4 separate regions of the Homo sapiens genome follow, and all the other regions are linked to region 1. The links are contacts of gene promoters, found by promoter capture Hi-C in blood cells and fetal thymus (Javierre and others, 2016). All regions are on one chromosome and are shown on one strand. The core of a region is centred on a gene start or on the middle of the fragment in contact, and the rest is flanking DNA. Distances in the headings are between cores, read along the strand shown.

Region 1 (2,831 bases), core at 206-2,705:
TGTAAGGCTTCAAGTTTGTTTGTTTGTTTTTACCTCCAAAACATCTAAAACTTTTACCTCTAAAAACATTCAAGGTCAAGTGAATTATTTAGTGAACTGTCTTAAATGCCATTGTCATTAAGGTATATTTGTGCGTGTGTCCAGCACATTCATTGGGACTGACTGTGTGACAGACATTGTGCCAGGTTCTGGACTGACCCAGGAAGCTCACAACTTTGAGTGATACATGTCAATAATAAATACATGTATCTTCTGTTACTTAGCAGAAAAGAGGAAGCCCTAACAGCTTGCAGAAGTCATAGCAGTGAGGGAAGGAATGCTCTACAGAAGATGACAGATAAGATGAGTGATGTTATTAATAACTTGTGTATCGGCACAGAGACATTATGGTTTTTGTCATGTTTGGGGCACTACAAGTCACTGGACTACACACTGGATGCAGTTGAGAGAATAGTTCAGATGAGGTTGAAAACAAAAGCAAGGATTTTTTTAATAGTCAAAAGCTTCAAAATTATTTTAAGCAAGAATATGTATGTGAAACAAGTTTTTCTTGAGAAATTGCAGTATTTTCTTTAGAAATATATACTTGAATATATTTAAGTACTATAAACTGTGTTTCCAAAGTCAGCTATTGTGGAATTGGCTGGGTGCAGTGGCTCACGCGCCTGTAATCCCAGAACTTTGGGAGGCCAAGGCGGGTGGATCACCAGAGGTCAGGAGTTGGAGACCAGCCTGGCCAACATGGTGAAACCCCATGTCTACTAAAAATACAAAACTTAGCCTGGCGTCGTGGCAGGCGCCTGTAATCCCAGCTACTCCCGAGGCCTAGGTAGGAGAATGGCTTGAACAGGGGAAGTGGAGGTTGCAGCGAGCCAAGATGGTGCCACTGCACTCCAGCCTGGGCGACAGGGCGACTCTGTCTCAAAAAAAAAAGTCATCCATTGTGAATGAATGTACAAAACGCTTATTAATAAGTGTAATATTAAAATATATCTTTTCTGAAAGTTTTAGTGACAAAACAAATTAGTTACAGATTTAATGTTACCAAAATTCATGTACATTGAAAATTTCGGGACATTTTATACTGGTGGTGGTGGGGTGGCATCTTAGCTTGGGTTTAAATATCATTAGTAATCGGATAGCTCTGTAGATGATTATCAGTATATAAAGACATCGTGAGCAGTATTTAATAAGAAGAGTTGCTGAAGTGACTTTTGCAGGAGGATGAATGCTTTTTTTAAAAAAAAAGTTTATACGTGCCTCTTCGCTCTTCCAAAAAAAAAAGAGAGAAGAAAAAGAAGAATAAAACGAGAGACGAAGGTGGATAACACCTTTCTCTAGACCCCGGTGCCTCTCATTTCTCGGGCTGCAGGCGACGGCTGCTGGGCCTGCGCGGGGTGGAGCCGACGCTGACGCGCCCTGCGCCGCAAAGCATTGTGGGAGCTCGGGCCCGCTAGTGTCGTGGTTGGAGGCGAGGTGGGGCGGCCGTTTGTTTTCTCGTGGTCTCGAGCTCGCGCGCTCTCATCCCCTCCCCCGCGGCGTGCGGCGGGGCGGAGAAACGGCGGCGGCGGCGGCGGCATCGGCAGCAGTAGCAGAGGCTGTAGCATCGGACACCCTCCTCTCTCCCGCAATCCGGTTCCTCTTCCCCCTCCTTCTCACTGTTTGTTGTGTGTTTGATGTGTTAAAGCAGGAGCGAGAACCCGAGCAGCGCCATGAGCAACACTACCGTCGTCCCCAGCACTGCAGGTCCGGGCCCCAGCGGCGGGCCCGGTGGCGGAGGTGGTGGTGGCGGCGGAGGCGGCGGCACCGAGGTAATCCAGGTGACTAATGTCTCCCCGAGCGCTAGCTCTGAGCAGATGCGGACTCTCTTCGGTTTCCTAGGCAAGATCGACGAACTGCGCCTCTTCCCGCCGGAGTGAGTATCGTCCACCATCACTGTTCCTGCTAACGCCGCCTCAGCCTGGGCCTAACACACACAATTTCCTTAGGCCCCTGTCGCTGCTTCCCCGGGCCAGGCTGCTTGAGTGGCTGGTGGCTGGTGGATTTACTTAAGACGGTTGTGTTCCAGGCCTACAAAAAAATGCAGAGAGGCAGGGCCAGGGCTTTTTGGAATTAGGAAACACTGGCTGTTATTCTCGGGAAATTTTTTTTTTCCGCCTTAAATTGTGCCAACGTGGTCGTTTGGCTTTGGGGACTTAACGCAAGACTAACCGCAGTCTGTACGTCGTATATAGGTTAAATCCCTTTTTTAAAAAACTGAGTATTTGTTCTTTGCGTTCTTGGAAGAAAGGTAACAAAATTATTCATGCCTGTGTTAATTTGGTGTTAAACTTTGTAGGTTGTTCACTTATTGTTATTGCTGTTATGTGGTTCTGGCCCAGCAATATAATTCAAAGATCATATTCTTTTTGACAGACGCTTAGTTTAGTGTGAGCCTGATTACTTAATTTGTATAATGTCAAAAAACGGGTTATAAACCAGAGATTTTCCTTTGTTTGAATAATATACAGATTTGTGATATTTCACAGTTGTTCTTGAGAAGGATTTTTATAAATGTTGAAATTTGAATTAGAGTGTATGACTTTTTATCCTTTTTGTCTCACTTTTATTTTGAAAATTATTTCTATCGCAAGAATATTAAGTGGATGAATTGTAAAGAAAAAATAGTTCAAAGAAGCTAAGAAGTAAGATAAAGTGTACTACTAAAACAGACAATTGGAATAATAATAATAGTCTTGTGCTTTTTGGAAGACTTATTGGTGGAGAAGTGACAATTCAAATGTCATTATCAGTAAATATCATATATTGAGAATTTTATGATGTCACTTAAA
Region 2 (2,831 bases), core at 226-2,725, 2.8 Mb before region 1:
TTGAGACAGTCTTGCTCTGTTGCCCAGGCTGGAGTGCAGTGGTGTGATCTCAGCTCACTGCAACCTCTGCCTCCTGTGTTAAAGTGATTCTCCTGCCTCAGCCTCCTGAGTAGCTGGGATTACAGGCATGCACCACCACACCAGGCTAATTTTGTATCTTTAGTAGAGACGGGGTTTCTCCATGTTGGTCAGACTGGTCTTGAACTCCCGACCTCAGGTGATCCGCCCGCCTCAGTCTCCCAAAAGTGCTGGGATTACAGGTGTGAGCCACTGCGCCTGGCTGAAACCACGTGTTCTAATGCAGTTTTTTTTCTACAGGACTTAAAAAAGACAATGTCCTCATTTACTACTCATATGAAGTAAATGTTAAAAATCATCTCTAAACCTAAAAAAACTTTTAATCTTTTTAACCTCCATTTTATTTTAAAATGTTTCCAAGTTTGTCTTATAGCCATTTTGCAGTTTAAAAAATTATGCTTATTGGCTGGGCATGGTGGCACACGCCTATAATCCCAGCACTTTGGGAGGCTGAGGCAGGCGGGGATCACTGAGGCCAGGAGTTTGAGACCAGCCTGGCCAACATGATGAAACCTCATCTCTACTAAAAACACAAACATTATCCGGGCATGGTGGCGAGTGTCCGTAATCCCAGCTACTGAGGAGGTTGAGACACAAGAACTGTTTGAATCCGGGAGGTGGAGGTTGCGGTAAGCAGAGATGGTGCCACTGCATTCCAGCCTGGGCGACAGAGCCAGATTCTGTCTCAAAAAAAAAAAATAAAAATAACTAATACCTTATTGAAAGGGTTTGCCCTCACAATATTTTAATTTAACTTTACCTTAGGATGATAAAACTCAGTCTGGATTTCTGGCACAGCCCAATTTATGATATGAATAAATCAAACACAAATGTCAAAAGGTTAAAGGAAGCTGATAGAGAAAATGAATTTAGGAGAAGAAATAATATAGTTAGGGCTTGTATGAGTTTTTAAAGCCAAACAGGAAGCCGCACTGAAACATTCCTCTAAGAACACACCCCAAAGCTTAAACGGAAGCTACCAAATCAAAAGCCATCAATGTGACTTTCTCCAATACAGTTGACCCTTGAACAACGTGGCTTTGAACATTCTGCCTCTGTCAGTCTTGAGACAAGCAAGCCCAATCCCTTTTCTTCCTATCCAAAATAAAGACCTTTGTGATGATCCAGTTCCACTTAATGAACAGTAAATATATTTTCTCAACATTTTCTTTAGCTTACTTTACTGTAAAAACACAGTATATAATACGCAACATACAAAATGTGTTAACTGGTTATGTTATCACTAAGACTTTCAGTCAACAGGTTATTAGTAGTTAAGTTTTGGGAGAGTCAAAGGTTACATGTGCATTGATCTGCGGGGTCAGTGCCCCTAGCATCCTCATGTTGTTCAACAAGTCAACTGTATTTTCACTAGTTTCCATGTTTCTTAAGTAAAACCCACATATACTTTGGTTTTTAAAGTCGTCATTCCTTAGACAAAATGCACATTGCCATTTACTGAGTGTCCTGGCCATTATATATGGTATAGGCAGACAGTTTCAAAAGTTGAATTCTAAATGAAGTCACTTACATTTTAGGTTAAACCATATGAAAATGTCAAGATTTCAACCTAACACCATAATACCACAGCCCTTTAATGATCCCCAGTTTGGCAAGATTTCAAAAATACAACCACAACTTTGAAAAGAACTATCATATTTCTGAACACCAATAACTACAAGATACTCCACTAACAGCTTTTTAGGAAAAAGTAACTCTACCACATAAAACATAATTACAAATTGATCAAAGGACTAAATTTCTTAGAATATGTGATAATACAGTTTATTTTCCTTATAAAGCAAATTATCTGCCCCAAATGATCCTATGTAAAGCTTTAACAGACAAATAACCCATGTGAAATTTTAAAACAAAAATTATAAATACAATTCAAGTCACATCTGAACATTTTCAAACACGACAAAACTTAATTTTACCTCTTCACTCTTTGATTTATGAAGAACAAATCCCTTCTTCCACTGCCCATCAGCACCTTCATTTGGTTTTCGGATATTAAATTCTACTTTTGCCCGGTCCTTATTTTGAATAGCCTTCCACTCATCCAAAGTCATCTCTTTTGGACCCTCCTCTTTTACCTCTTCAACTTCATTCTCCCTGTGAAAAGGTTTTCAAGTTTTATACCTGGTAGAGAGCTGATATTACATAAAAGTATTTTAAATTTATGATTTTAATTGAGAAAATTAACCTTGTAATCTTTTAGAGAAAGATTATTCAAGGATGAGGGTACCCTAGTTTCCTATGTAACTAAGCAACTTGGTAGAGACCAGGAATTCAGTGTTTGCTAATTAGAGACAAGTAAGGAATATGGAATTCATACTTATGAACTCTTAAATGATCATTTATCAGTAATACAATCTAGAACTGGCTTTACGAATACTAAAATACACATTTCTTAAAAACACTACCTTGTTTAAAAACTACCCTCTTATGTAAAATCCTCAGCCTATCTTCTCCTAAACCACATTTTTAATTTCCATAATTCCCACAATATGTAACTCTTAATAACATACAAGAAGGTAATCCTCTAGGATGTCTGTCAGCAACCAGGGTTCAAATTTTGGAATATAAAAGAACTGTTCCTCTATGCTTTGTTTCAGCAACTAGCACTTAGAGCAAATCAAAACAATAGCCGTGTTTCTACAAATCCTAAAATCCTTATACTCCAATTTTCAAACCAACCTGTATATGGAAAGGAGGCCATGGATTCACTACTAATAGAACTATCCACAAAC
Region 3 (2,831 bases), core at 143-2,642, 2.5 Mb before region 1:
CAAGAGAGCTGGAGAATATTTTGTCTAGAGTGATAAAAACATAAGGGTGCAAAACTTCCAGGTACCTTTGCAGAAATTACTTCTGTGACCTTTGGCTGTACAGCAACCTTAATAATGCAAGCACTGTTTTGAATGCAAGCATGTGGGAGCCATTTTCACCACTTTTGATGACTTCAGTAGGTTTAAGAAATGTTTTTGCTTTTATTGCATAAACCATAAAACAAAGGAAGGGACTTTTGAACTACTCAGTGAGAGTCTATATATTAAAGTTTGTTTTTCAAAAATGTGTAACTACCATTTGCAGTTTTAAAGGTCTGCTTTCCACCTACAAGTTGCCATTATCTCAAAGGTGAAATTTTAGCATATGACTAAAAACTTCCTATAGTTACAGCTTCATGATTCAGCATCTAACATCAATAATTCACAGTGAGATCATAGGAGGCTCTCTGTGGAAGGTAACGACATACATACGTTAGGAAAGGAAGCTTAGGGCATATCGAGAGCATTTTGAATTTAGACTTGTGGGCTGTGTGGGTGTCAGATGGTTGTCTCTCAGCTGGTGGGCGTCCAGAAGGATCCTTGTTTGGGCAAGGCTCTTTGAGAAAGGAGAATCTGGGTTGCCAGGGATTCCCACATGTGGTCACCAGCTCCCCACGCAGACCAGCTCACGATTTCCCAGTTACACCGGGCAGGTGGGAAACCGTTCTGCTTTCTGTGGAAAAGATTCTAACTTGGTTCCCTGCCATCCCTGAATACAAACGGGTTGGTTTTTCTTTTTTCAGCTTCCAACCCTTGCAGCTTTCCAAAAATAAATCAAACCAGCCATCAGGGCACCGAAATAATACTACTGCTAATAAGCAGCTTCGCCTAGACTTAGATAAACAACACTTCTGAGGTAAACTTTGCCCCGGAGGTCTGGAGACACTTTTTTAATGTAACCTGCTTACTAATAATTACTAGACTTCAGTGCATTAACCCTGGAAATAGATTTTAATAGCCACCCCTTAAAACAAAAGACATGAAAAGATAATAAGAAAAAAGTGCCGCAACTATTATAGAAAAACACTTGGCAGCCTGCTTCAGCCCAAGCTGAGGCCACCTCTAGCCTCTGCTAAAGCCCCCCACTCCCAATGGTCCCCGCCAACCGGATAAGAGTGCGCGCGGGACCCGCCTTCCCCTCTCGGCACCGCCCCCGCCCCCGCCCCCTCGGCTCGCCTCCCGCGTGGCTCCTCCCTTTTCCGCTCCTCTCAACCTGACTCCAGGAGCTGGGGTCAAATTGCTGGAGCAGGCTGATTTGCATAGCCCAATGGCCAAGCTGCATGCAAATGAGGCGGAAGGTGGTTGGCTGAGGGTTGGCAGGATAACCCCGGAGAGCGGGGCCCTTTGTCCTCCAGTGGCTGGTAGGCAGTGGCTGGGAGGCAGCGGCCCAATTAGTGTCGTGCGGCCCGTGGCGAGGCGAGGTCCGGGGAGCGAGCGAGCAAGCAAGGCGGGAGGGGTGGCCGGAGCTGCGGCGGCTGGCACAGGAGGAGGAGCCCGGGCGGGCGAGGGGCGGCCGGAGAGCGCCAGGGCCTGAGCTGCCGGAGCGGCGCCTGTGAGTGAGTGCAGAAAGCAGGCGCCCGCGCGCTAGCCGTGGCAGGAGCAGCCCGCACGCCGCGCTCTCTCCCTGGGCGACCTGCAGTTTGCAATATGACTTTGGAGGAATTCTCGGCTGGAGAGCAGAAGACCGAAAGGTGAGTCGGCCTGCGGACTCTTCCGGCCCGAACTTCTCTTACCTACCCCGCGCTCCCCGGTGCAGCCGGGCTGTGGAAGGCTTGCAGGGGAGGAAGCTAAAAAGTTTGCACAGGGCAACTCCCGCCCTTGCTCCCTCGGGACTCTCCGTGGAGCTCCCACGGACTGAAAGAGCGTGCCCCCCAACCCGAACGAGCCCCGCCGGGGCCTTTGCAAAGGGCAGCAGTGGCCGTCGCTGCCCGTGCGGCTCCCGTGGCTGGCAGCCTGTGGCAGGGGCACTCTCGGGACTTCTCACGGGACGCCCGGTCCTTGGGCGTGCAGGGGTCATGGGGGGTGACGGGGCCGCGGGAGCGCCGGGTTTTCGTAGAGCCCAGGTGCGCGGTGGTGCTTGCATTCGAGAGGGAGGGGCGTGGTACCGGACGAGGGGGGCGGCGATGGCCCCGAGGGCACCGGGGCTGACGGGACCCCTCGCCCTTGCCCGCGTGTAGGATGGATAAGGTGGGGGATGCCCTGGAGGAAGTGCTCAGCAAAGCCCTGAGTCAGCGCACGATCACTGTCGGGGTGTACGAAGCGGCCAAGCTGCTCAACGTGTAAGTGGGGCCCTTGCGCGTCCCCCATGGCACCCCTTCCCGCCCCAGCCCGGGAGGTCGCCTTGGCTGGGCGCCCCTCGCCCGGCCGCGCCACTTCCTGTCGCTTTTCTGCCTGTCTCGGAAGGGAGGGGGCGAGCGGGCCGGGCGGCGACCCCCAGGGACCCGGGCAGTGGTTGAGGGCGCCCGCGCTTCTGCGCTCACTGGCCCCGCCCGCTGCCCCCAGCGACCCCGATAACGTGGTGTTGTGCCTGCTGGCGGCGGACGAGGACGACGACAGAGATGTGGCTCTGCAGATCCACTTCACCCTGATCCAGGCGTTTTGCTGCGAGAACGACATCAACATCCTGCGCGTCAGCAACCCGGGCCGGCTGGCGGAGCTCCTGCTCTTGGAGACCGACGCTGGCCCCGCGGCGAGCGAGGGCGCCGAGCAGCCCCCGGACCTGCACTGCGTGCTGGTGACGGTAAGGGACTGGGGGACTGCAGCCTGCAGGGTAGAGCCCCGGAAGGACGGGA
Region 4 (2,831 bases), core at 149-2,648, 2.1 Mb before region 1:
AAAATGTACAGGTTGACTACATAGAAAAAAGCTCTATATCCTGGTAAACATCCAAATCAAAATAAAAGCTAGTGACAAATGGAGAAAAGTTGAGCTACCCGTGTAACAGACAAAAGATAAATATACTAAATCAGACTCTCAAGAAAATGGATAAAGAATCTGAACTGACAACCTAAAAATATCAAGTCATAGGAACATGAAACATGCTCAGTGTTACTGGTAATGAAGTAAATGCAAAATTCAATTTCTGCATCTTGAAGTTGCAAATTTCAAAACTACGTAGTGTCAGTGAGGATGCGGGCCACAGCCTCTCTCATTCTGCTGTTGGCACAGTTCTGGAGGGCTCTGTATGCTTACAGGTGTCCATGATAAATGCTTTTCTGTGTAGCCTTCATCGCTATCACCTTACTATCTATTGCCTCCTCCCTCCCGCCTTCCTTTACCACACCAATATACTTCACAATGATAGGGATATTGTTTACTGATCTGCCCCAAATGCTTACAATAGCACCTGGCCCGGCTGGTTGTGGTGGCTCACGCCTGTAATCCCAACACTTTGGGAAGCCAAGACGGGCAAATCACAAGGTCAGGAGTTCGAGACCAGCCTGGCCAACATGGTGAAACCCCATCTCTACTAAAAATACAAAAAATTAGCTGGGCGTGGTGGCAGATGCCTGTAATCCCAGGCTACTCAGGAGGCTAAGGCAGGAGAATCACTTTGAACCCAGGAGGTGGAGATTGTAGTGAGCCGAGATCACGCCACTGCATTCCAGCCTGGGTGACGAGCAAGACTCTGTCTCAAAAAAAAAAAAAAAAAAAAAAAAAAAGCACCTGGCCCAATATTAGATGTTCAACATATGCTTATTGAATGAATAATTGATCTTTAACCCAGTAGTTCTTAGGAATTGATACTAAGGCAACAATCAGTGATGTACAAAAAAGATTTATATCCAAGGATGCTCATTTCAACATATATTGTAATAGTCAAACTTTGCAAACCACTGAAATGTCCAGTAAAAATTATGAACCATCCTTTTTAGAGACTATAATAGTAAAGTCATGAAAATCATGTTATAGAAGACAACACAATAACATAGAAAGATTTCCTAGATATATTTTGAAAAGGGCAGGTTATATAACTGTCCAGAAATTTATTTTCTATGTATAATACAATCTTAATGTATATAAATCTACACATATATGCATGGAAAAACTTGTGTAAGAACATACTGACATTTTAACAGTATTTATCTTTGGATAGAGTAATTGTAAAATGTTTACATGTTTTTCTTTACTCTTTCATGTATTTTTGCAGAGTTTCTGTGATAGGACCATTTTGTTTTTGAGACTGGATTAAAAACAATGTAGCAGAGGCCATGGGTGCCTCACCCATATTCCTCAAGCTGGCCCTAGTTCCAAGTAGCTAAGAGCCTGGCGGTGGCCCTCTACCTACAAAGGATGGGAGTGGAGTGGCTCTCTCTCACAGCTTCCTCAGCCCCAGGGGACAACTCTGCAGCATGTTCCTCACAGCTTGACAGAGGCCCTGGCCGTGCACCTTGGTGGCTGTTCTTTGCATTCCCTTCTTCTCAGCCTTGCTTCTCCATGCCACCTCAGTGCTTCCTGGAATCACCTTTCAAGCCAGCTACTTGCACACAAATCCTTGTCCCAGAGTCTGCTTTTAGGAGGAGCCCAGGCTAAAAGGCACAAACGCTGTTTTAAAAATCCTGCCCACTCCGTGTAAAGAACATCAGCCAAGCATGGTGCTATAGAAATAACTCCTATCTTGGCTGTTCCTGTGTGTAGTTCACTTTCAATCTCTCAGCATCCCTGAGTTGAAGAGAGATCTTGCTTAACTGGGAGGGAAGGCCAAGGGGTTTCTGGATACAGGAGCCACCTTGGGGATCTTAGAGCCTCAGAAGAGGCAAGGATGTACGTTATAAGAAGGGGCTGTCCAGATGATAAATGAAATTAATAAACCACCCCTGTGATGCCAGCACATGGCTCACAGCAGATCTGCATCAGGCGCCTACCATTGCCCTAGGATGCCATTAACACCTACTCTTCCTTATGAGGCTTAGAATCAGGGCTGCTGAGGACTTCAGAAATCATCTCATTCAGGTGGGGTGAAGGGGGTGGGTAGCTTCCCTGAGGGTCCCACAGCAAGAGTTAGAGACACAGCCAGGACCAGAACTTACTGAAAAGCAATAATCCAAGGTCTGACTTGGGTTCTGAGGATTTGCTCAGTTATAGATGTCATTCTCGATTTGGCCTGAAGAGGGCAGACACTTGCCATTCATGGAGGTGAAGAGCTTGTTTTTAAGGCTGGACTAACATCTCCCAATAAGGTCATTTGGTTCTAGTGAGAGTTGCAGCTCACAACATTCTTGACTCTTCTGCTGCAAATATGCTACTGGAAAGACACTGAAGTTCACAGACTGAAGTTCCTTTAGTTCCAACTCTGGCACTGTAATAGGTGACCTTGCACAGGTCACTTCACCTCTCTGAGTCTCACTTCTTGTGAAGTAAGATCTCTACTCCGTGACTGAGAAGGTGGTATTGGGGAGTGATATGTAACTTACAAAGTTGCATATTACAACACACATCACTGCTGTTAAGTTCTGTGTGTGTGTGTGTGTGTGTGTGCGCGCGCGCACATGTGCACACTCGTGATGGAGAGAGCTTGATAAAGGAGAGAGGCCTAGGCCAAAGGAGCTTTTTCTGGCCTCAGGTGAATATATATTTGTAAATTCTCTAGCAATTGGAACCAATTCACTTTGTACTTGGAAAAGACTTAACTGCTTTTACTTTATATTTCGAACTGTACTTTTTTA

What was found. Contacts are between HindIII fragments. The CHiCAGO score rates a contact against its expected background, and 5 or more counts as called.
Region 2: a contact is called between a fragment that was not itself captured here and the fragment with the promoter of SRSF11 in region 1, in 5 of 17 cell types (total B cells, naive CD4 T cells, naive CD8 T cells and 2 more). The highest score is 9.7, in total B cells.
Region 3: a contact is called between the fragment with the promoter of GADD45A here and the fragment with the promoter of SRSF11 in region 1, in 6 of 17 cell types (naive CD8 T cells, non-activated CD4 T cells, monocytes and 3 more). The highest score is 11.4, in naive CD8 T cells.
Region 4: a fragment that was not itself captured here is called in contact with the fragment with the promoter of SRSF11 in region 1 in 1 of 17 cell types (neutrophils); the score reaches 5.1 in neutrophils.

Annotation. Positions count from the first base shown.
Region 1 is chr1:70,219,925-70,222,755 of GRCh38, forward strand. SRSF11 (serine and arginine rich splicing factor 11) reads left to right here and starts at 1,456. Exons shown (of 12, transcript NM_001350605.2): 1 at 1,456-1,915. The coding sequence starts at 1,713. RefSeq lists an enhancer at 1,350-1,895 and a silencer at 1,791-1,840. The HindIII fragment of the contact is 2,724 bases long and covers 502-2,831 here.
Region 2 is chr1:67,417,994-67,420,824 of GRCh38, forward strand. SERBP1 (SERPINE1 mRNA binding protein 1) reads right to left here. Exons shown (of 8, transcript NM_001018069.2): 6 at 2,016-2,193. Among named protein-coding and RNA genes, the nearest start is that of SERBP1, 11 kb to the right of the region's middle. The HindIII fragment of the contact is 871 bases long and covers 1,041-1,911 here.
Region 3 is chr1:67,683,809-67,686,639 of GRCh38, forward strand. It overlaps GADD45A (growth arrest and DNA damage inducible alpha), which reads left to right and starts at 1,393. Exons shown (of 4, transcript NM_001924.4): 1 at 1,393-1,730; 2 at 2,217-2,318; 3 at 2,542-2,779. The coding sequence starts at 1,687. RefSeq lists silencers at 1,057-1,236, 1,247-1,306, 1,497-1,656, 2,127-2,256, 2,327-2,466 and enhancers at 2,364-2,831, 2,567-2,616, 2,647-2,831, 2,822-2,831. The HindIII fragment of the contact is 4,802 bases long and covers 484-2,831 here.
Region 4 is chr1:68,118,076-68,120,906 of GRCh38, forward strand. All of the region lies in intron 7 of GNG12-AS1 (GNG12, DIRAS3 and WLS antisense RNA 1), which reads left to right. It also overlaps a transcript of WLS not described here. Among named protein-coding and RNA genes, the nearest start is that of MIR1262, 64 kb to the right of the region's middle. The HindIII fragment of the contact is 8,968 bases long and covers 1-2,831 here.